4 separate regions of the Homo sapiens genome follow, and all the other regions are linked to region 3. The links are contacts of gene promoters, found by promoter capture Hi-C in blood cells and fetal thymus (Javierre and others, 2016). All regions are on one chromosome and are shown on one strand. Each heading gives the region's core, a stretch centred on a gene start or on the middle of the fragment in contact. The rest is flanking DNA. Distances are from core to core; before and after follow the strand shown. Region 1 holds the start of POU2F2-AS2 (POU2F2 antisense RNA 2). Region 2 holds the start of GSK3A (glycogen synthase kinase 3 alpha). Region 3 holds the start of CNFN (cornifelin). Region 4 has its middle 19 kb from the start of POU2F2-AS2.

Region 1 (5,622 bases), core at 2,436-4,935, 240 kb after region 3:
TTGTCTGGGTTGGACTGGACTTGTGGTGGGGGGAGGGCGGGGGGAGCGGGTGGCGCTGGGGGGGTTGGGAGGGACGGAGGTCGCTTGGTGGAGTTGAGGTGGCATCCACCAAAGCAGGGGTGTTGAGGAGCAGAGGTACAGCCTGCCCAAGGTGCCGGGGGAGGGACGGGGGCCTGGGCCCATCCTGGCAGGGGTCTGGGGTCTCTGGCAGGGAAGGGAAAGAAGGCAGGCAGGCCCTGACATTGGGATTTGGAGATGATGTAGTGATAAAACCGGCTAGCCAGTGTCTCCGTGGCAGCCCCTGCTGCCTCGCCACCCTCCCCCACTCAGAGACTCAGGGTTGTAGCCTCTACACACATACACCGTGCCGTCTACACCAAGTCACCATGACACACACAGGGACACACCCAGAGCCTCCAGCCCACTTGTGGAAACACACTCGACCATCGGCACACAGGGACACACAGCATCACATAGACACACAGAGAAACCGCATGGACTCTCCGACACTCATGAGGAGAACCTGCTTCCAGTACACATAGAGACCACCGCGCAGATCCCTGAAGCACACGCAGCTGCCCACAGGCACAGGCACAGATCCACACGGGACCCATGGAGGCTCACGCACAGCAGCATCCGTGCTCAGACACACTCTGTCAGGGGCATGCGCACGCCAACACACACAGGCTTCCCAGAGCACATGGGAACACATAGCTACCCCATTAACTGGGGACAGAGGAGATCCCTGAGGTGTTCCTGGGATACATCCCCAAGGGACAGACAGAGACTTAGCGTCAGGGAAACACTCATGGAAGTGCATACACAGCCACCCAGTGCTCCTGGGACACATCCATGAACTCATGTTCACACACAGACATGACTCGGGCCAAGACGCTCGGGTATGTGCAGTCCTAGAATCCCCCAGCAGAGCCTGAGGACACATGCACACCCTGCGTCCATGGCAGCTCGCACACCACAGACCTCTCGCTGGAACCTCCTGTCCGAAGCCGCACAAGCTTCCCACCCCAACCACACATGTGCAGGCCAGACCCTGGGGTGAGGCCAAGGCAACTTCTACCCGCAGGGACCCAAAGGCGGGGCAGCCAGCAGCTCTGGGGGTGGGCGCAGGCCGGCCTGAGGGTTCGCCCCACTGTTCTTTGTGTCCATTCACCGTAGCCTACTCCAGCACCCACCCCAGACCTTCCCCTGCCTCATGGGCTCAGGACAGTGTCTCTCTGAACCCACAGGTGCCCCCTGCCCACCTCCCAGAGCTCTGTCCGTCACACACCTTCAAAGGGCCCCATCTTTCTGAGCTGCTCCCAATTGAGGGGATGCCTGCTTTCTCCCAGAAATTGTCCCTCAATTTCTCCCAGCCCCCTTACCTGAAACTATGGCCCCCATCCCCATCTGCTTCCTTGCCCACTCCCATACTCACCCCCTCTCCCGGCTGTCCAAGCTCTCAGCCTCCCTAAGCTCTCCTGCTGTAGGGGAGTGGTGGGGGGTGCCTGGCCCCTCAGAGGCCTGGGTAAGGGGTACATGATGGTGGGGGACCTGGGTGCGGCTCCGGGAAAAGGAAGCAAGGCAAGCAAGGGAGAGAGAGAGAGGCAGAGGCAGGCAGCCAGCCAGCCGGCTTTATATCCCTGCCGTATTGATCCACCATGTCACAGCCCCGGTCGATAGCCAGCCGAGAAAGAGAGAGGGAGAGAAGGGAGGGGAGGTTTGGGGGAGGGCAGCCGGGACCCCTATAGTCCTCGGCCCATCTGGGGCCTTCTTGGCAGGCTGTGGGGGCATGTGTGAGCCCATCCCACCCCCTCCAAAAGAGGCCCGCCTTATTCTCCCCCTCTTCTTCTTCGCTGCGGCCCTCTCCCCGAGAGTCACCTCAGCCTTCATAGGAGAATTTAAGCACAGAAGATCTGCCTGTTTCCTTCTGTCTCTTTGGAGGCTCCATATCCCTGTGGGCATGGGGGCTCACAGCTGTTCATTGCCTCAGCTACCCGTTGCGCCCCACAGTCAGGCTGGGTGGATGGGAGGCCCTGACGCAGTGTCATGGGTGGATTGTGACCAACCAGAGTGTGAATCCTCCTCCTTCACTGTAGCCATGGGCAAAAGGGGAAAACTGTCTGAAGGCCTCTTCCCCAGCCACCGCTAGCCAGGTACTCAGGAGCACCCTGTCTATGTTGGTTTCCTGCCCTTTCTGACGGACGTTAAGTTTCTTCCCACAGCTGTGCCAGGCCAGTGCTCAAGGTCACATTTAGACTTTTTCTCTTCTGGCTTCCTCCCCTGCCCACTGGCTTAAGAGAGGAGAACGCTTAGCCTCACTTTTTCCTCAGCCTCCTCTTCCCTCTCCATAGAACCTTCTACCATCTGCCCCCACCAAACCTCCCCTGACCTGGGTGGGGGAGGGCAGGAGAGGAAGATGTCTTCCCTTAGTAGGAAGAGAAGTGAGGGGAGAGACTCTGGGACAGCGCTGAGAACCCTGGGCCTGGGCCGTCTCCCCTCTCTGGGCCTCAGTTTCCCCCCACCCCCATCCGACCTTGCCCAAGCTGGAAGGTCTGTATGGCTCTGGGATCCGTAGGGATTGGTACAGATGGGAGGCAGGGCCATCCAGAGGGTGAGAGCAGGGCCAGAGGGGTGCCTGTTGCCCCTCCCTCAGCCAGGACTGCCCTGGTCCCAGGTGCGTCCCCCCAGCCCCCAACTCCCCAGGGCTCCAGTTCTTTGTCTGTCCAGATCCTCCTCTCCTCCCAGCCCAGCCTCCGAGAGGTTGAGGAATCACCTTAGCCTTGACCCGAGGGGGAGGGCAGAGGAGGGGCAGGCGGCCCCCACCCCCGCCTTCTGCCCATGGCCATCCCCACAGCCCCTCTCCTCCCCGCTTCCCTGAGTACCAGGCCATCCCGCCAGTGTCAGGCCGATGCTCCCTTTGTTAGGAAGGGGGAGGGGAAAGAGACAAGCTGAGGGGACGTGGCCTGACCCCCGACCTCTCCCCCTCCCTCCTCCCATCTGGGTCCCCAGGGGCTCAGAGCCACCTTGACAGACAGTTCTGACCATCAGCCAAATGGCTCCGGGAGTGAGCAGGGGGCCAGGTAGGGGGGAGGGGAGGAAGGCCTGGCCAGGGCCCTCAGCCCACCATGGATATGTGTGTGTGGGTACTCTGAGGTTGGAAGGAGGCCCCTTGGAGGGGTGGCAGGGGGAGATGGGCATCCACAGAGGACAGGCTCTAGGAGGAGCCTGGTTGGATTGGGGGATACAGAAGCAAAGTGGGGCTCATCCCAGAGCCAGCAGTTCTGGGCACCCTGTGGATAGGGGCCTGGCCCAGGCAGATGCCCCCACCCCACCCCCACCCGGCCTGCGGCATTGGGAGTGCAGCGAGTTTTAAAAAAAATTAAAAGAATAAAAAAACAGGAGCAGGAGAAGCTGGGGGAAAAATATATAAGAAAAAATATAATAAGAACTAAGCGGTGGCTGCAGGAGAGAGAAAGGGCAGGAGGCAGGGAGGGGGGTGCAGGGGGGAGGGCGGCTCGGGCCCTGGTCGCTGCGAAGGCCGGCCGCCGGCCTCTGCGCTGAGCCCTCCGCGTCCCCCCTGCCGGCCCCCTCCAGCCCCGATCGATCCAGTTTCTTGGCAATAAAGCATTTTTATTGTCAGCTGCCCTGAATGCCAAATGTGAGCCTGGTCCTGCTCCCCTCCGAACCTGCTTCCTCACCACCCCTCCCCCAGCCCTCTCCACCCCCTCCCCTGCCATTCCCCCCACCGCAGGATCAGCATCGTCCATCACCAAGACCCCCTCCTCTTCCTCCTCATCCATGTCAGCCGCAGTGCCCGCACATCTTCAATAATCCACCAAGCCTTCCACCCCCCATCTAGGCCTCTGTGCTCCCTTCCCTAACCCCAAACCTGCAGAGGAGCAGAAAGGTGGCCATGGGATGGGTGGTCTTGGGGGGCACAGGGATGGGTAGGAGGAGGTACAGGAGGGTGTTGGGGTCACCAGGCAGGGAGACGATGGCCACAGGTTGAGGGAGGCATTGGCCAAAGTCAGGATAGCCAAAGCCTGTCCCTCAGCAGCCAGCAGGGGACAAGAACAGGTAGGGTGTCTGTGGGGACCAGGCACTGAAGAGGGGAGACAGACTGCAGCCTCTCTGCCCCTGGTTACAGCACTTCAGCTCTCAGTCCCCCAGGGCCTGTCTCTGCCCCTTCCACACTGAACTTGGCCCTTTTCTTTGGGAGGCAGCTGGGTGCAGGAAAAGAGAGAGGGCCGGGAGCTGGACACCTTCCCATGTGTCAGTCTCAGCTCTGCCCGGAGCAGCCCCTTCAGGGATGGGGACGACACCACACACCCTGCTGGACTGCTGGTGTGAGGGGCAGGGGAGAGGGTGTTGGGAAGCAATTTACAGGAGGCCCTTGTGGCCCCACCTCTGCTTGCTCTTCCCCCTCCCTCCCTCTTTCTTTTCTCTCCTGTTTTCTTTGTCTCTCTTTCTGCTGTTCTCTCTCTCTACCTCTTTATCTGCATCTTCCTGTCTCTGTCTCTCTATTTGACTCTGACTCTCTTTCCTTTATTGCTGCCTCTCCCTCCAGGGATTTAAAAACCCCCATACACTTCTCTGTTCTACCTTGATAGTCCCCAGTTACTCTTTCCTTACACCCCTCTTTTCTCTGCCCTGCTGTATGCTTTTCACTCTGTCTTTTTCTACCCTGCCTGCGCCCCACATCCCTTGTCTAGCCCCATCTCTCTTGGTTCATCTCCCCTCCCACAGCCATAGAAAGAAGTGGAGGCTCAGGTCCTTGGAACATCAGCAGAACACGCAGAAAAAGGGTCTTAAGCCCCTCTTCTTTCTCTTGGCAGTGTCAGTGTCTAGGGAAGTTCAAACAAGTCTACACTCGCAGAGATGGAGCTGGGAACTGAGGGGTGGGGCCCATCTGTCTGCCACAGACGCGCTGTGTGGCTTTGCTCAAGTCATGCTGGCCCTGAGCCTTGGTTTCCCCTGAAAAGCGAGCTACTCCAAGGGTGTTTACGGCCTCCCCTGTGGATTATGTTGCCTTGAAAGCCCAGGGTCCTCTGTCTCCTAGGGAGGGAGTTGAGGGCAGGATCTTCAGGCTGGGGAACATGGTCGCCCCTCCTCTCTCCTTCTCATGGTGGCTTGGGAAGGTGAAGCTGCAGACGTGGGCAGGTCTAGGGTGCCAAGATTTTTCCTCTCGGTCTGGGTGGGAGCGAGGCCCAACCAGGGTCATGCTTTAAGGAACATGGGGCGTGGATTCAAGACGCCTGGGTCCATGTCCATTGTCAGCTCCCCAGAGCAGGGGCCGTGACATCACTGGTGTCTGGTTCATTGCTTGCCACACAGACAGGATTCAAGGGACATTTGTGGAGCAAGTGAGGAAGAACCCGTGCAACAGTAGAGGCTGGGGTGGGGTGGGGTGGGGAGGAGCAAGTCCTGAGTGGGAGGCACAGCCGGAGGAGCAGAGGGATTCAGACATCTTTGGGTTGAATTGAGGGGAAGTTGACAGATGGGGGCATTTGGAGGATGAGGAGGATCTCAGGATGACCCTGGGTGTCCTTTCCAAGCCTCTCTCCTTCACCTAGGACCAGTCACCTCCACCCAACACCAACAAGGTCTACATTAGTGCAGCTT
Region 2 (5,732 bases), core at 53-2,552, 150 kb after region 3:
GGCGCCCGCCACCACACCCGGCTAATTTTTGTACTTTTAGTAGAGACGGGGGTTTCGCTATGTTGGCCAGGCTGGTCTCGAACTCCTGACCTCGGATGATCCGCCAGCCTCGGCCTCCCAAAGTGCTAGGATTACAGGCGTGAGCTACTGGCGCCCAGCCTGAGCCACAGCGCCAGGCCCAGAAATGACATTTCCGTCTTTTTAATGCTCCATTCAGCTTCCTGGTGCGAACCACATTGCTAGGAAAAGCTAGACTGTATCCGAAGACTAGTTAGTGTTCTGAGAAACCGCCGGGAACTTTGTTTCCCGAATCTTTGCAGAGTTGCGGTTAGAGAGGGGACATTTTTTCTTTCCTGATCTATGGTCACCTGGAACTTAAAGGTGCTTGGATCCATTTTCCAGCAGTCCTTGATCGACCTCGGCTCTTTCTTAAAGAAGGACCTGGGGGCGAGGAAGGAGGCGCTGAAACACTTTTAAGTCTCTCCAGGGAACTGCCGCAGTCTCTAACCTTTCGTTCACACGCCCCTGATGGTGGCCATTGGACTTCGCTTCCCGGCAAGCCTCCGCAGACTGGCCTCACAGAGGGTCAGGTCTGGACTATTCCCCAGCATGCTTGGAGCTCATGGGCGATCCCGCCCCCTCAGTCAATGGGGAGGATACGTCGAACTCCATTTCCCAGAACACACCAGGGCTCGCTGTGGCAACTGCACTGAGGCCTTGGTGCTGACTACACTTCCCGGCAGGGACTGCGGCCCAGCGTACCTGGAAAGAGGAGCGCGTAAACCTACTCCATTTCCTCGCCCATCTCCGGAACTGCAGTATCCACCTGGGGCTTAAAAACCACCTGAGACTCCATTTCCCGGCGTGCTTTAAAAATCGCTTTACACCTGCAATGCGGTGAGGGCGTGGCGACGACTCCATTTCCCGGCTTGCCTCACGGCCCGAGACCCGCAGGTTCACGCGGGCCGACTCAATTTCCCAGAGCGCACCGAGCTCTGGGAGGCATACACAGCTAATAGACTGAGTGAGTGGACTCCGTTTCCCAGCGTGCATCAGGCTCTCTGCTTCCTAAAGTGCTTCAGGGCTCCCCGTCGTACAGTCGGCTGACAGATTACCCTGGACTCCATTTCCCGACGTACAGCGTGACCCGTCATTCCCGCCCATCATTCCCGCGGTCTACTCTGAGGCTTTTGTGGACTTCATTTCCCGGCGTGCCACGCGGCTCTCTGTGCGGGCCGAGGGCGGTGACGGCGGCGCGGACGACAGCCGGACTGCATCTCCCGGCGTGCCCCGCGGCGGGCGCTGGGCCGGAGCCGGAGCCCAAGCCAGAGCGGCGCGGCCTGGAAGAGGCCAGGGCCCGGGGGAGGCGGCGGCAGCGGCGGCGGCTGGGGCAGCCCGGGCAGCCCGAGCCCCGCAGCCTGGGCCTGTGCTCGGCGCCATGAGCGGCGGCGGGCCTTCGGGAGGCGGCCCTGGGGGCTCGGGCAGGGCGCGGACTAGCTCGTTCGCGGAGCCCGGCGGCGGAGGCGGAGGAGGCGGCGGCGGCCCCGGAGGCTCGGCCTCCGGCCCAGGCGGCACCGGCGGCGGAAAGGCATCTGTCGGGGCCATGGGTGGGGGCGTCGGGGCCTCGAGCTCCGGGGGTGGACCCGGCGGCAGCGGCGGAGGAGGCAGCGGAGGCCCCGGCGCAGGCACTAGCTTCCCGCCGCCCGGGGTGAAGCTGGGCCGTGAGTACTAGTGGCGCCCGTGTAGGGTGGTGATTAGGGTTCCCAAAGCTCCTCAGACATCCATCAGATTCTTTCATGTGCTTAGATAGGAGCTCGAGGTCACTGTGCCTCCCCATACCGGGGATCCGAGCCCTCTTCCTCCCAGGAAAAGGAGTCTTGGGGTTACCATCTCTTGGAGATCAGAATTACTCGTGGATCAGAATTACTAACACTTAAAGAAACGGGTTACAAGTCTCTGTTCTTCCATTATTGAGGTCTTGGGTCCTTGAGCCTTAAGAACAGGTATCTGATGTTGCTATTCATTATAATATTGGATCAGAGGTCACAGTCGCTTGCAAATGGGGATCTAGGGTTATTGTCTCCTAAGAGAACAAGAATAAGACCAACCCCGAAAAAGAGGGATCTGCATTCCCTGTCCTTCAGAAGATGGGGATTTGGAGCGAATATCACTTAGAAGCAGGGCTTTGAGGTTACTGTGTTTTGTCCCCAAAGAATAGGGCCAGGCTTTCCAAACCTGGTACTCAGATCATCTTCCCTATTAAAACCAAGACCTGGCATCATTACCCACCCTAAATCTTGTTGAGCTGTACTGCCAATGGTGAGAATTAATAGTTACTGCCTTTTAGATATAAAGACATTGGGAGTCAGCATATCCTTCAAACCAAGTCCATAGTCCATGTTTTAAAATACATGGCTTGGTGTGTCTCCTTTAACAAAAATGGAATGGAGCAGGGTAGGTCACAGTTTCCTACAGAATATGGATCTAAGGTTATACTTTTTTAATAATTGTTCTAAGGTATGGTGTCATTGGCTCTGAAAAAAAAAAGTGATGTAGGGTTATCTCCCTCTGAAAGAACTTGTCACTGGCCCCTCAAAATGGATTTGGTGGCCGGGCGCGGTGGCTCACGCCTGTAATCCCAGCACTTTGGGAGGCTGAGGTGGGCGGATCACCTGCGGTCAGGAGTTCGAGACCAGCCTGGCCAACTGGTGGAACCCTGTCTCTACTAAAAATATAAAAAATTAGCTGGGCGTGGTGGCGGGCGCCTGTAATCCCAGCTTCTCGGGAGGCTGAGGCAGGAGAATCGCTTGAACCCAGCAGGCGGAGGTTGCAGTGAGTCGAGATCGTGCCACTGCACTCCAGCTGGGCAACGAGAGCGAAACTGTGTCTCAAAAAAAAAAACAAAAAAATGGATTTGGTTCATCAGTTACTCAAAGGGGTCACTATCCTCTAAGAATGGCACCAAGGTTTGCCACCATTTGAATAATGGGAATTGGGAATTATAGCTTTCCTTCAAAGGACTGAGGCTGGAATAGCTCCTTGATAATAAAGGTCAGGTTCATCATTATCATAATTTGGTGCTTGTCCATTAGGGACCACCCACATATAGTGAGGGGTCTGGGTCTCTGGACCACTCAGATGAAGAGGTCAGGTCAGTGTTTTTTTCTAACCTCAAAGTACCAAAAAGTGAGGGTCAGGGCACTGGCACTTATAGCAGGAGAGGACATTCATTTCTGTCACCAAGAACCAGTAAAGTTACCAGCTCTACAGGGGAGGACTTAGAGGTCAGTATCCTCTAGGCTGTGAGAGAGGTTAGTGCTTTCCTAAAGTAGGAGTACCTCAGGGTTACTGCTCCCTGAAGTGGAAGAGGCTCGGTCAAGCTTTCTCCAAATAGGAGGGGCCAGAGGGCAGTAGATCCAGAGTAGATGGAGTCAACATCTGATGTCTCCCAGTACCAAGATGGACCAGTGATCTGTTGCTTCCTAGAAGTAGAAATTTGGGGTTGCCAACCCTTGAAGCAGAGAGATTTAGGTATCAATATCCTCCTATGTGGAGGGGAGCAGGACTTAAGATTCCCAGAAAGGAAGAGGGGAAAAGTCACTGGGAAGGTCCCAGCATCCACCTTTCCTCAAAGAGGAGGAGGGGACAAAGAGGTCCCCAACGAGCTTCCTGCAGAGATTTCCCTTCCTCCCACAGCCCCAGGATAGGGTGATGCGCAGGCAGGATGGGTCAGTGGATCGTGTATCCCCTTTGTTCCCCAGGTGACAGCGGGAAGGTGACCACAGTCGTAGCCACTCTAGGCCAAGGCCCAGAGCGCTCCCAAGAAGTGGCTTACACGGACATCAAAGTGATTGGCAATGGCTCATTTGGGGTCGTGTACCAGGCACGGCTGGCAGAGACCAGGGAACTAGTCGCCATCAAGAAGGTTCTCCAGGACAAGAGGTTCAAGGTAGCTTGGGCGGGATGGGGACAGGGAGGTTTGGGGACTGGGTGTGACTGGTGGGAGAACCTGAGCCAGAGAGCTGGAGGCTTGGGTTTCAGAGCCATGGGCCAGAAGAGAAGGGGGAAAAGAGGAAATGAGACCTGTGAAAGATGGGAAATGTGGATCCCAGGAGAGCCCAGAGCTTTTACTGGGCATTTGCTCAATGTAAGTGCTTAATAAGCAAATTCTTGTTTAATTTACATAAAGATTCTCTGAGGGTAGGTACTGTGGTTATACCCATTCTAAGTGTAAGCTAAGTTTAAAAGCAGGGAAACAAACTCAGGTAAGAGGATTGCCTGAGGTCATAGAGCAAGTGCCCCAGTCAAGGCTGGAATCTGATTCCCAAACCCTCTACCTTAACCATTTGGTTACACTTCTTCCCAGGAGAGAAAGGGACCTGGCAGGGCTAGCGCGGGTGGTTCTGAAGGTCGCGCTCTTCCCAGGTGTTTGGCCAGCGCAGAATGGAATGGAGGTGCCCTGTGAGCTAGGAGAGGCTCAGGGAACTAGAAGGAGATGGAGGAAGTGGAAGTTGAGGAATAATTGGTGTTTAAGGGCCTGGCATTTGGAGCTTAGACTAGTCTGGATGTAGGAGAACTGAGCCTAGACTGGAAAGGAACCAGACCAGGGCCTCGGTCTTGGCAGGGAGGGCCCTTGGGCAGGAGGAGCTCCAGGGTGTCAGAATTTGATTGGAGTTGAGTTCCAGAAGTAAGAGGGATGTAGGGGCAGGGAGTTCCTAGGCCTCACTGAGGAATAGAGAATGGGGAAGAATGCTGAGACCGCATTCTGGGAAAAGTCCAATGCCTGGAGTCTGGGACTCAGGATCCTAGATAGAGTTCGAGGACCCAGATGCTTCCACGGGACCAGAGTGAGCTGGATGGCCACTACCTGTCTGTTGTTGCTTGTGCCAGGTAGGGGGGCAAGCCTCATGTGCCCATGCCTGATTTTTTTTTTTTGAGATGGAGTCTTACTCTGTCACCCAGGCTGGAGTGCAGTGGCACGATCTTGGCCCGCTACAACCTCTGCCTCCCAGGTTCAAGCGATTCTTGTGCCTCAACCACCTGAGTAGCTGGGATTGCAGGCATGGGCCACTATGCCTGGCTAATTTTTTTTTTTTGTATTTTTAGTAGAGACAGGGTTTTGCCATGTTGGCCAGGCTGGTCTCGAACTCCTGACCTCAAGTAATCCGCCCCCACCTCGACCTCCCAAAGTGCTGGTATTACAGGCATGAGCCAGCATACCTAGCCCTGATTTTTCAAGACAAACTGAAAACTGGATTTAGATGTGAAATCTTTTTTTTTTTTTTTTTTTTTTTTTTGAGACGGAGTCTCATGCTGTCACCCAGGCTGGAGTGTGGTGGCGTGATCTCGGGTCACTGCAACCTCCGCCTGCCGGGTTCAAGCGATTCTTCTGCCTCAGCCTCCCTAGTAGCTGGGACTACAGGCGTGTGCCACCACTCTCGGCTAATTTTTTGTATTTCTAGTAGGGACGGGGTTTCACCGAGTTAGCCAGGATGGTCTCTATTTTTTTTTTTTTTTTTTTAAGACAGAATCTCGTTCTGTCACTAAGGCTGGAGTGCAGTGGTGTGATGTCGGCTCACTGCAACCTCTGCCTCCTGGGTTCAAGCGCTGCAACCTCTGCCTCCTGGGTTCAAGCAATTCTTGTACCTCATCCACCTGAGTAGTTGGAATCACAGGCGTGCGCCACCATGCCCAGCTAATTTTTTTGTATTTTTAGTAGAGATGGGGTTTTG
Region 3 (5,128 bases), core at 828-3,327:
TCAGAGTGTCATGCTGGGAGCCCTGGGGTCCTCGGAGATGACTGACCTTGAGTCACCTGCACCCTTAGTCTGGACAGCAGGGGGGATGGGGCCCTGTAGCTGCCTCCACAGGGCAGGTCTGGAGATGAACAGAGATGGGAAGCGAGATTCAGAAGAGATTTTGACATAGGAGACAGAGACCCCGGGATAAGGGCACAGAGACACAGAGCCTGGAAGGAGAGGGACCCAGAGATGGAGAGACAGAGATTTGGAAAGAGATTTGCAGAGATGAGGAAAGAAAGACAGATTCACAGCTGGAAAGGTGAAGATGCAGGGTGAGAGACGAAGATTCAGAGATGAGGAGACAGGGATGTTAGGACACAAGTGAGGAGATGTCCCCCAGACATCCAGGCTCTAGGACCAATGACGGACGTGCACCGGCAAGACAGTGAGCGCTGCCGGGAGTTCTGGGGACAGGAAGACCCAACCATCTGGGTGGTGCTGGGAGACCAAGGCTTGGGTCCTAATGTGTTGGAGGGAGGGAGGGAGGGAGGGGACACCTGGGATCCCAGCTAGCAGGGTGATCCACCTGCCATCACCCCATACCCGGCGGGGTGATGACACCACCTTCTCTGCAGGTGACACCCCAGTTTTCTAGTGCCTCCTACATTTTTGGGGTGACACCCGTGCTGAGAACCCCACCCAGCTCTAATGCTGCTTCCCTCACTGAGTCACCTCCCAACCCCGTCAGGCCTGTTGGGGGGAAACTTTGGCGATTCAGGCACCCAGACCCCCAGCTCCTTCCCTGCTCAGGAGCCCAGCAGTGTGGAATCCCAGGACCCCTACCCTACTGAGGGATGTGCAGCCTGGCCTCATGAGACGCAGGAGTCCAGGGCCCCAGCCCCTCCTCCCTCAGACCCAGGGGTCCAAGCCCCCACTCCTTTGCTCCATTAGGACCCAGGAGTCCCAGGTGACGTCCACGTCCTTCAGGAACTGCGGCTTTTCAGTTCCCAGCCTCCTCCCTTCCCAATTTGGAGCTGGGGTGAGGTGTGTTTATTTACTTTGGTTCCAACATGAGTCATTCCCCAAAACACACTGCCCCCCATGTGTCTCCTGGCTTGAATGGGGAGGACACTGTCCCCCTCTCCCAGGAAAGTGGGGATATCACTGAGAGAGATGAGCGAGACCCTGAAAGGGGAGTCCCACACAGCACTCTCTCCCACTCCACCCGGCCTTTTTCTCTCCCCACCCATCACCTCTCCCCATTTCCCTGCCCTCTAAGCCTGTTCAGTGATCCCCCCACCTGCCTCTCCACTTTTCCATCTCCGTCTCTCTTCTGTCTCCCATCTCCCCTTTTCTTTCCTTTTTTTTTTTTAAGACAGGGTCTTGCTCTGTCACTGAGGCCGGAGTGTAGTGGCGGGAACACGGCTCACTGCAGCCTCAAACTTCTGGACTCAAGCGATCCTCCTGCCTCAGCCTCTCAAGTAGCTGGGACTACAGGCACATGCCACCATGCCCGGCTAATTCTATTTGTATTTTTTGTAGAGATGGGGTATCCCTATGTTGCCCAGGCTGGTCTTCAACTCCTGGGCTCAAGCGATCCTCTCACCTCAGGCGATTACAGGGTTGGGATTACAGGCGAGAGCCACCATGCCTGGCCCATCTCCCCTCTTCTTGTTATTTCTTTTCACATTTTTGTGCCCCTCTGTTTCTTGGCACCTCTCCATCTCTCTACATCTTCCTGCGTCTCTCCATCTCTCTGAATCTCCTCTCTCTCCTTTCTGTCTAGAGGGACTTCCCTGCCTGCCTTTCTGACACTGTGTTTCTGTCTCTCCCTCTCTTTTGGTCTCTGCGCATTGACCCGGCTGTGGCCCCCCGCCCCCGCCAAACCTCCCACCCCCCGCCACCTTCTTTTCCCTGGGTCCTGGGAGCTGAGGCAGGAGGAGAAGTGGGGGGATGGGAGTGGAGAGGGAGGGCGGGAAATCCCAGTGTGGGGAGAGGGTCGATCAGACCGGCTTGGCTCCCTGGGCACCTCTGTCAGAGCCCCGCCCAGGGCTGCGTGGCCGCCCATATAAGTGGCTCTGGGCTGAGACGGAGAAGTCAGTGCCCGTGTCTCCACACGTCTGCCTCCATCACTGCCATCGCGATCCTGCAGGTAGGAACATCCCCTCCGCAGCCCTCTTCTTTGAGGTTGGGCGCCTCTGCTCTGTTCTCCCTCCTCCTCATCCCACTCATATCACTCTGTCTCCTTTCATATCGCTGATTGTCGGTCTCTCGGGACATCTCTGTCCTTCCCAATGCCCCCAAATCTGTCCTTCTTAACTGGGGTGTGCTGAGCTGAATTTAGAAGTCTTGGGGCCCAGCATCACCTCTATGAACCCCCTTGGCCTGGGCCGTCAGACGTGGGGCGTTCCTCCTCATGTCTCTGAGCCTCAGTGCTCATCTGTGAGATGGGCTTGCAGAGGAGTCAAAGTGCTGGGCACATGTGGGCATTACTGGTGACATCTCTACGGGCACCTGGCTCTGATCTTTCTCCCCTTGTCTCTGACTCTGTCCATCTCCATTTCTTGTTCTCCCTCAAGCTCTATCTCGGGTATGGGGAGGGTCCTCTGCAATCTGTCGGGCAGTTGGAAAGACATGGGCGAGTTTCTCGCCCCCGCCCTATCCATTCCCTATTCCATGTCTCTCCTGGTTGACAGGCTGACTTGGCCTCTTTCTCCCCAGCTCCCCTCCCCCTGAGAGCCCAGCCCCCAGTGCCCCAGTCCCTTGCCCCCACCTCCCCAGTATCCAGCGTCCCTTGGACAGACTCTGCCACTGTTGCCACAGCCACTTCTGCCGTCCCCAACGCCACCTCCTCAGGGCCAGCAAGATGCAGTTTGAGATGCACGACAACGTGAAAGGCAAAGGTGGGACCGCTGGGTGGACCAGCAACCCTCTCAGTACTGGAACCTGGCCGCCTCCCTCCCCTGGGCACCCTTGCTTCGAAGACAGACGGCGCCTGCTTCCACCCCAGAGGCCCCAGAAATGCTGCAACCCAGAACCCAGGCCCAGACGTGGAGGAGGAGGCGGCACCGCCAGGCCCCACCCAGATGTGGTCCCCACCCTTCCTCAGATGTGCAGGAGACCCCCACCCCCAGCCTAACCAGACGTGCAGGAGCCAGCAGCAACAGGGACAGACTGGGGTTGCCGGTGCCCAGATGTAGCAGAAGGGAAGGGGGAGGCACAGTGGTGTCCCTTCAGTGGGCGGCCTGGCGGCCCCGCCCAGACTGCCCGGCACAGGGAAGGGTGGCCGAAGTGCGGGGCCCAGGAGATGCTGCGAGGCTGCCAGCTGACCCCTACCCTCCCACCTCTGCAGCTATGTCCTACCCTGTGACCAGTCAGCCCCAGTGCGCCACCACCAGCTGCTACCAGACCCAGCTCAGTGACTGGCACACAGGTCTCACGGACTGCTGCAACGACATGCCTGTCTGTGAGTGCCTGCCTGCTCCCTCTCCAGGCCTGGTGGAAGATGGGTTTGGGGGGAATCAGGAGAGGGAAGCTCACCTCCAACCTCCTCCCACCGCTTGCTAACCCCACTCCCACCTCCCTTCCCTGGACTTGGAATTCCCACTCTAACAGTCACCCTTTCCTCAGACCCCCAACACTCCTTAGGATACTACCTCATGCCTTCCCACACTCAACTTATCAGGCCCTCAACCTCCCCTTTGCATGCTCAGCTTTCCTCACTGTGACCCCCAACTCCCTCTTCAAACCCTAGCTCCTGGCCCAGTGCAGTGGCTCATGCCTGTAATCCCAACACTTTGGGAGGCCAAGGCATGACAATCCCTTGAGGCCAGGAATTCAAGATCAGCCTGGGCAACATAATGAGATCCCCATCTCTACAAAAATAAAAATAAAAAATAGGTCGGGCGCAGTGGCTCACGCCTGTAATCCCAGGACTTTGGGAGGCCATGGCAGGTGGACCACAAGGTCAGGAGTTCAAGACCAGTCTGGCCAAGATGGTGAAACCCCGTCTCTACTAAAAATACAAAAAAAAAAACCGGGCGTGGTGGCGGGCGCCTGTAAACTCAGCTACTCGGGAGGCTGAGAAAGAGAATTGATTGAACCCGGGAGACAGAGGTTGCAGTGAGCCGAGATCACGCCACTGCACTCCAGTCTGGGCAACAGAGCGAGATTCCGTCTCAAAAATAAAAATAAAAAATAAAATTAGCCCGAGGTGGTGGCACACACCAGTAGTCCCAGCTACTCGGGAGGCCGAGGCGGGAGGATTGCTTGAGCCCAGGAGGTCGAGGCTACAGTGAGACATGTGATCACACCACTGCACTCCAGCCTGGATGACAGACCGAGACTTTAATTTCTTTTTCTTTTTTTTTCTTTCTTTCGTTTTTTTTTTTGTTTTGTTTTTTGTTTTTTTTGAGACGGAGTATTGCTCTGTCGCCCAGGCTGGAATGCAATGGCACAGTCTATGCTCACTGCAACCTCCGCTTCCCGGGTTCAAGCGATTCTCCTGCCTCAGCCTCCCTAGTAGCTGAGATTACAGGCACACACCACCACGCCCGGCTAATTTTTGTATTTTTAGTAGAGACGGGGTTTCACTATGTTGGGTAGGCTGGTCTCAAACCCCTGACCTCGTGATCCTCCCGCCTAGGCCTCCCAAAGTGCTGGGATTACAGGCGTAAGCCACTGCACCCAGCCTCCAATTTCTAAAAAAAAAAAAAAAGAAGAAAAAAAAAAAAAGAAAAACCCTGCCTTCCAATCGCTAAGCCATCCTCTCCTCGGACCTCTAATTCCCTCTGGGACCTCTCCTTGGCTGGGACCCTCAATGCCCCTCCGCGGCGAATCAACCGCGCCCCCCCCGGGGCGGAGCCGTCGGGAGGCCCCGGCTGGCCCCGCCCCTGAGCGCCTGCGCCCCGCCCAGGTCTGTGCGGCACTTTTGCTCCTCTGTGCCTTGCCTGCCGCATCTCCGACGACTTTGGCGAGTGCTGCTGCGCGCCCTACCTGCCCGGAGGCCTGCACTCCATCCGCACCGGCATGCGGGAGCGCTACCACATCCAGGTGCGCGCCGGGCTGGGGACCCGCGGGAGCAGGGAGCTGGGGACTGGCCTCCTGGGACCCACCGCGGGGCTCCTGACCGCTCTCTCCTACCCTC
Region 4 (5,775 bases), core at 3,253-5,752, 220 kb after region 3:
GATGAGAGATGTGTGAGTGCACAGAGGTCGCGGGCGTATGGCTGAGTTTGACGGCATGCTTGCACAGCAGCCTTGAAGCTGGGTTCAAGAAAACAAAACAAGAAAAGATCCCCTCTCCCCACAGTCTATCAGCCCATGAAAAGCTTCCCTGGACCTTCTGTAGTAACAAAGCGTCCCATGTCAGGGGGTGACAGGCAGGCCAGGAGTAAAGCCGATCAGGGCCATAGGCAGCATCTCCAGTTGCTGATAATGCGATTCCACATCTACTTCCTGATTTATGGGTAATGCTGGACAGAGGCCCATCCTTGCCGTTGGAGAGGTCCAGACCCCCATTTCCCTGAGGCTGTGCTGGCATGTGCTGGTGAACTCTGTGGCAGGTTGCAGTGTCATCTTTGGGGGTCTTGGTTGCGCTCACTTCCCTCTGCTAGTCTTTGCAGGGAAAATGGAAGGTGTCTGTGTCAGGGCTGTAGTAGGGAAAGAACTCAGCCACAGTGTGTGTGTATGCACACACCTATACCCATGCTGTGTGTGTAGAGGTTGTTAGCCTATACGTCCTAGACAGCATGCTGGCCAGGTGTTTTTTTTTTTTTTTTCTAGCAAGTCCGTCAGTGGCCACTCCAGGCCACCTCCATTCTGGTTCATATACACTCCCTTCTTGTATGCAGGGCCTATAAGCCAGAACTTCTTCCTCCACCAATGTGACAGCAAAGCAAGGGCCCCAACCTTAGCACCCCACTGGGTAGAGCTTTTCATAGCCCTGGTGCATAATCATAATGTGTAGAGGCATGACTTGCAACGAGGGGAGCAGGGACAGATGGCCACACCAGGGGCTACTTGGACATCGATGATGGCAAGGGAGAAGTTTCCATCTCTGGCATGTGCTGGTTAATTTCCAAGATATTTCAGGATGGAGATGGTTGAGAAACCCAAGTGTGAAGAGTTGTTAGAAGACAGAGTGGGTGTAAGGCCTCCTCAGATGGATGTCTATTCCTCCTTCTAAATATATTTCACTCATCATTTTTCCCTTGGGCTCAACACCTCTTGATCTAATAATAATAATGACCATGATGTCCCTTACACCCACCTCGCTCTCACAGCAGCCCCAGTGGTGTCCCTCTCACAGATGAGAATTCTGAGGCCCACATCATTTGCTCAGCCTGTCAGCAACCATGCTGGCGCTAGAACCAAGGTCCTCCTCATACCGAGCCTTGTCTGTCCTTATAGGTCTGTCCTATCCCATTAGCTGTCCCAGCGCCATTTCCTTTCACTGGCTCTGTCTCTTCCCCCACTTCCTCCCTGCCCCCTGAGATGTCCATCCACAGACCTGTCTCCCAGGACCTGTCGGGTGGATGGATGCCTTATGTGGTTCAGTGAGGGCTCTAAGGATGTGGGTCTCGCTTTATATCCTGAAGGGAGAGCCAGCAAATGAGCATGGTTGAGCTCGTTCCATCAGTGATGGTTTGGGGCTGGGCCTGTTCAAACACAGGGGTTTGCATGAGCTTATGGTCCCCCCTACCCCTTTTGGTGAGCCCTGTGTCACCTTTTCAGATCCACATGGTGGCCTTGGGAGGCAGGTGCATTTTCCCTCACTCGATCACCACCCCAACTTCATTAGATCCTCGGGACAGGCAGCTTTCCCAGCTCTGACGCATTCGGAAGGAGGCTGAAGGTGGTGGCTCCACATGCAAGGTCCCTGCATTCAATAGGTATTTATTGAGTGGTGTGAATCACTGAACAAATAAAGTCCAGTGAGTTCCCTGAGGTAATCGGGCAATGGTGGTATGATCACTCCTTAACCTGAAAATGATCGCTAGGCACTGACCATGGGCCAACAAAGGCCTAGACTCTGAAGCAGAACCAATCCCAGCCTTAGACAGGATTCTGGGCGCCTGGACTGTGAGCACAAAGGGAGTTTCCAGGTCATTAGGAATCTGGGGAATGAAGATGGTGTGGGTTTAGACAGGGAGGTGAGTCTTTAAGGATGCTCAGATACTGAGAAAAGCAGACTGGTGGCAGGGCATAAAGATGGCAGAGGAAAGTGAGGAGAAAGCAGCCCAGGTTGGAGGTGTAGTCTAAGAGTAGAGGTTGGCACAATGTTGCAAGGCCCTGTCTGTGGAGGCTCAGCTGCTGCTCTGAGAAGTTGGAACTTGATCTGGCTGGCAGCGGGGAGCTATTATGCCTGCAATCACACACACATACACATATACACATGCATCTCGTGACAACGTACTTTGGACAATACGGACTTGTCTATGAGCATGAGTGTGCTTGTGCACACACACACAGGGACCTTTATTCTGGCATCCATTCAGGGTCTCCCTCACAGAAACCAACAAGGTTGGGGGTTACTTTAGTCCACACTCTCAGGATCCTATAAAGTATAGGGCTGTGGCCCACACACGCAAGTATAAGAGCAGACTGGGGACCCTCCCCCACCCGGGGTGCAGACTCATGTGGCATTCACAGACTTAATCCGCCGCAGTGAGGCCAGGGAGGCAGCATCTGTCACTTTCACAAACACAAGCAACGGAGTCTGAGAGAGGCACATTCCACTTGCTCACAACTGCTTGAGAAACAGATGCCTGTACCGCACTGCCCCCCATGCCCAAAACAGACACGGCCCCTCATGGCCCCCCACGCCAAGCCCAGGCCAATACACCAAGTCACTCCTGCATTAAAGTGCACACACACACACACACACACACACACACACACACACACGAAGCGCAGCCCCTGACATTCCATCTCCCCATATATACAACCATATACTCAGGCACTCTGACTTTAAGCACAGCTGCTGACTTCCTATCCCCTTATTCACACACAGACACAGACACACACGCATACACACACACACTCATTTTGACTTAAAGCACAGCTATAGCCATCCCACCACCCATACACATATACCTACAAGCGGACTTCCACACATACTCAAACACACAGCCTCACAATCCACCAGAACTACTGTGGCCAGCGGTCATTGAAGAATGACAGCCTGAGCAGTGTGCTGAGGGGAGGGTCGCCCTGAGGCATGGGCCGAGGGTCATACAACAGGGTACATCGGAATCCCTTGAGGAAAAGGTCAGGCCGACTCCAAAAGGGTTCCATTGGTCCGGACGGTTCTGCCAGGTAAGGGAGATTCAACAAATGCAGGCCAGAGGCAGGAGCCGACTAATGGCCGAGGCCGCTGATGGCCGAGATGGCTGGTCAGCGAGGAGGGGAGGCTCGACAACTGATGTGACTCAGAGCTGGACAAATGATGGCGCATTTGGCTGAAGCTGGCTGGGGGCCCATGACCAGAGACCAGGCAGCCATTCTCGCCTCAGCGGGGAAAGGGCCAGATCCGGCTCTGTTGCAGCAGGGTGGGTTTCCCAGCCTGGATCCACCATGCATCCTGCCTGCCGTGTGTGTCTTGGGGTCTTTGTATGTGTGCATGTTTGTGTGCATGTGTGTTCATACATTTATCTGCAGTTGTCAGCATGTGCCTACCTTCGTAGAACTTTGTATCTTTGGGACTCCTGGTGTGCATCTATGTATGTGCCTTTGTGTATGTGTTTGCTTGTGCGTCTATGTGTACATGCCCACCCACAAAGTGTTCAGGGACCTTTCTTGTTGGACTCTGCATTTTTGGGTCCGTGTGTGTGTTTGCGTCTATTGAATGTGTAGAAAGCTTTCTTACTGTGAGACACTATGCACTCTTGAGCATTTTTTTTTTTTTTTTGGCGTTGGGTTGAAGGTTGGGGTGGGGAAGAAGCGATGGGTCTGGCTCTGCACTCTGAGCCTTCCATGTATCTGGTGGCCCATGAGGCCGTCTTTGTGCATCTGTTTGAGCCTCTGTCTAGGTGTCGGCGGGTGTGGGCTTGTGTGATTGCCTGTTTCAGAGTTTGAATATCTGTGTGTCCACAGCAGCATCTCCCTCGGAGCATGGATGTGGGTGGAGTGGGCCAGACCAGGATGAGGGGGGCATCTCCCTGAATCTCATCAGACCTCTGGAGGGGGGTCACACAACCCATGCTGAGCCTGGCTGGGACCCAGCAGCACAGCACAGTGCAGACCACCCCTCCTCCTCCTTTTCCCCCCATGACCTTTGAGCACAGCAGCCCCAAATACATATTTATCAGAGGGGCTGTGGGGACCAGCCCCTCCCCCACCACTCCCCTCAGGGCCCAGCCTGCCTGGCTGTGGAGAAATTAACCTTGTGACACAGGAGCTCGCTGACACCCCGGCCCCCTCCCCATCTGCAAGGCACATATGAGCAAGGGTGTGTGTGTGAGAGAGAGAGAGACAGAGAAAAGGTACTCATCCAGACTGGGAAGGCGCAGCAGCGAGGGGAAGAAAGACACACAGGTACACACGCACATGTGTTTATATCACCCCGACACACACACACACGCACACACACACGTGTGCGCGCACTCATTCGCCAAACTAGAGAGGCCACGTAAGTCTTGAACGGATGCACAAGGCAAATACTGAAATACATAAGCATGCAGACACATGCAATGATCCTGCAAGAGACATACACAGATTCTGAAACACATGGTAGCCATGTGCACCCTTGGGTCCTGGGAGCCAGATACCCATACTTTTGGTCAGAGATTCCCTAAGAAAATTCATAGATGCTAAACCCTGCAGATGCACATAGACGTTTGTATATTTGTCCACAGAGATGCCAAAATGGACACACCAGGTTTGGAAACAGGGGTAAACACATACTCAGACACAGGTATGAAAACCCAGATGTCTGTGCAGGCACATAGGTGCTGAGACCTCTCAGGGCAAGACAGACACCAAAACACCAGGGTGCTCCTCGTGTGGAGATTTGTTTTTCAATAGAAAATGTACGAATAGAAATACTAAAACATGGCAGCATCCCAGCCTATATGCCTGTGGGTGCACACAGGCCACATTCAGAAATCCCACAGGGAGGCCACACGTGGTGACCGAAAGGGCCATGCCCTGAGTTATAGCACACAAACACCCCCCAGGCTAGCCTCATCCCCCTAAAGCAAAACAAAATAGGTAGATGTTCAAGTGTGAAAATGTGTATAGAATTAATTAACTCATCACATAGGTACTGAGCCTCTATAGGAGTCAGGCCCTGTCTTAGAAGCTGAGGAAACAGTGGTTTACGAGACAGACCTGGGCCTTGCTCTCTAAGAGCTCCAAGCCAACAGGACTGGCACTGATCAGACCTCAGTGTATAGTTAGTTATAAATACACCTGGTAAGGAGAGGAAAAAGGGGCTACAGGAGGGCATCACGGAAGAACCTGGTTTAGATTGGTAGGCTAGGTGTAACATCTCTGAGGAAGTGACATTTAAGCTTGACATCAGGCACAACACACAGATTCTAAATGTGTACACATATCCCTCCTGAAACTCACAGAGCCCACACAGGCATAAATAATGCAGCACTCAGATGCCCCTACCCTTACCCCACTATGCCGCACTTTTCCCTCTAGAAAACTCCTCTGGCATGTCCCTAGGTGGGAAATGGGATCCTTTCACCTGGGGCCCAGATTCTGGGCTCTGGATGAGGTGCACAAAGCATTCTGGGGCAGTGCTGAGTGGGGAGCCCAGGAAGATTCACCAAGGAGGAGACATGGAGAGGGTGATAAGGTGCAGAGAAGAAGGCAGAAGACTGTCTAAATGGAGATGCTTGCCTGGGCAAGGGCATGGACATGTGAACAAGCCTAGACTGTTCCCAGCAATCATGTGAGGCCCAGGGTCACGGGACCTTCAGGAGGACTGAGAGGAGACTTTACATGACT

What was found. Contacts are between HindIII fragments. The CHiCAGO score rates a contact against its expected background, and 5 or more counts as called.
Region 1: a fragment that was not itself captured here is called in contact with the fragment with the promoter of CNFN in region 3 in 8 of 17 cell types (neutrophils, naive CD4 T cells, fetal thymus and 5 more); the score reaches 9.7 in neutrophils.
Region 2: a contact is called between the fragment with the promoter of GSK3A here and the fragment with the promoter of CNFN in region 3, in 2 of 17 cell types (naive B cells and total B cells). The highest score is 6.2, in naive B cells.
Region 4: a fragment that was not itself captured here is called in contact with the fragment with the promoter of CNFN in region 3 in 5 of 17 cell types (neutrophils, naive CD4 T cells, naive B cells and 2 more); the score reaches 7.9 in neutrophils.

What each region holds. Positions count from the first base shown.
Region 1 is chr19:42,148,520-42,154,141 of GRCh38, reverse strand. It overlaps POU2F2-AS2 (POU2F2 antisense RNA 2), which reads right to left and starts at 1,606. Exons shown (of 2, transcript NR_186341.1): 1 at 1,436-1,606. It also overlaps a transcript of POU2F2 not described here. RefSeq lists enhancers at 3,609-4,109, 4,110-4,610. The HindIII fragment of the contact is 5,333 bases long and covers 1,019-5,622 here.
Region 2 is chr19:42,238,172-42,243,903 of GRCh38, reverse strand. It overlaps GSK3A (glycogen synthase kinase 3 alpha), which reads left to right and starts at 1,302. Exons shown (of 11, transcript NM_019884.3): 1 at 1,302-1,721; 2 at 3,762-3,949. The coding sequence starts at 1,439. RefSeq lists enhancers at 1-16, 631-680, 17-811, 741-950 and silencers at 1,241-1,450, 1,481-1,760. The HindIII fragment of the contact is 12,371 bases long and covers 1-3,382 here.
Region 3 is chr19:42,387,246-42,392,373 of GRCh38, reverse strand. CNFN (cornifelin) reads left to right here and starts at 2,077. Exons shown (of 4, transcript NM_032488.4): 1 at 2,077-2,134; 2 at 3,335-3,448; 3 at 4,898-5,034. The coding sequence starts at 3,337. RefSeq lists silencers at 4,790-4,969, 4,990-5,128. The HindIII fragment of the contact is 9,287 bases long and covers 1-5,128 here.
Region 4 is chr19:42,168,378-42,174,152 of GRCh38, reverse strand. It overlaps a transcript of POU2F2 not described here. Among named protein-coding and RNA genes, the nearest start is that of POU2F2-AS2, 19 kb to the right of the region's middle. The HindIII fragment of the contact is 1,654 bases long and covers 3,676-5,329 here.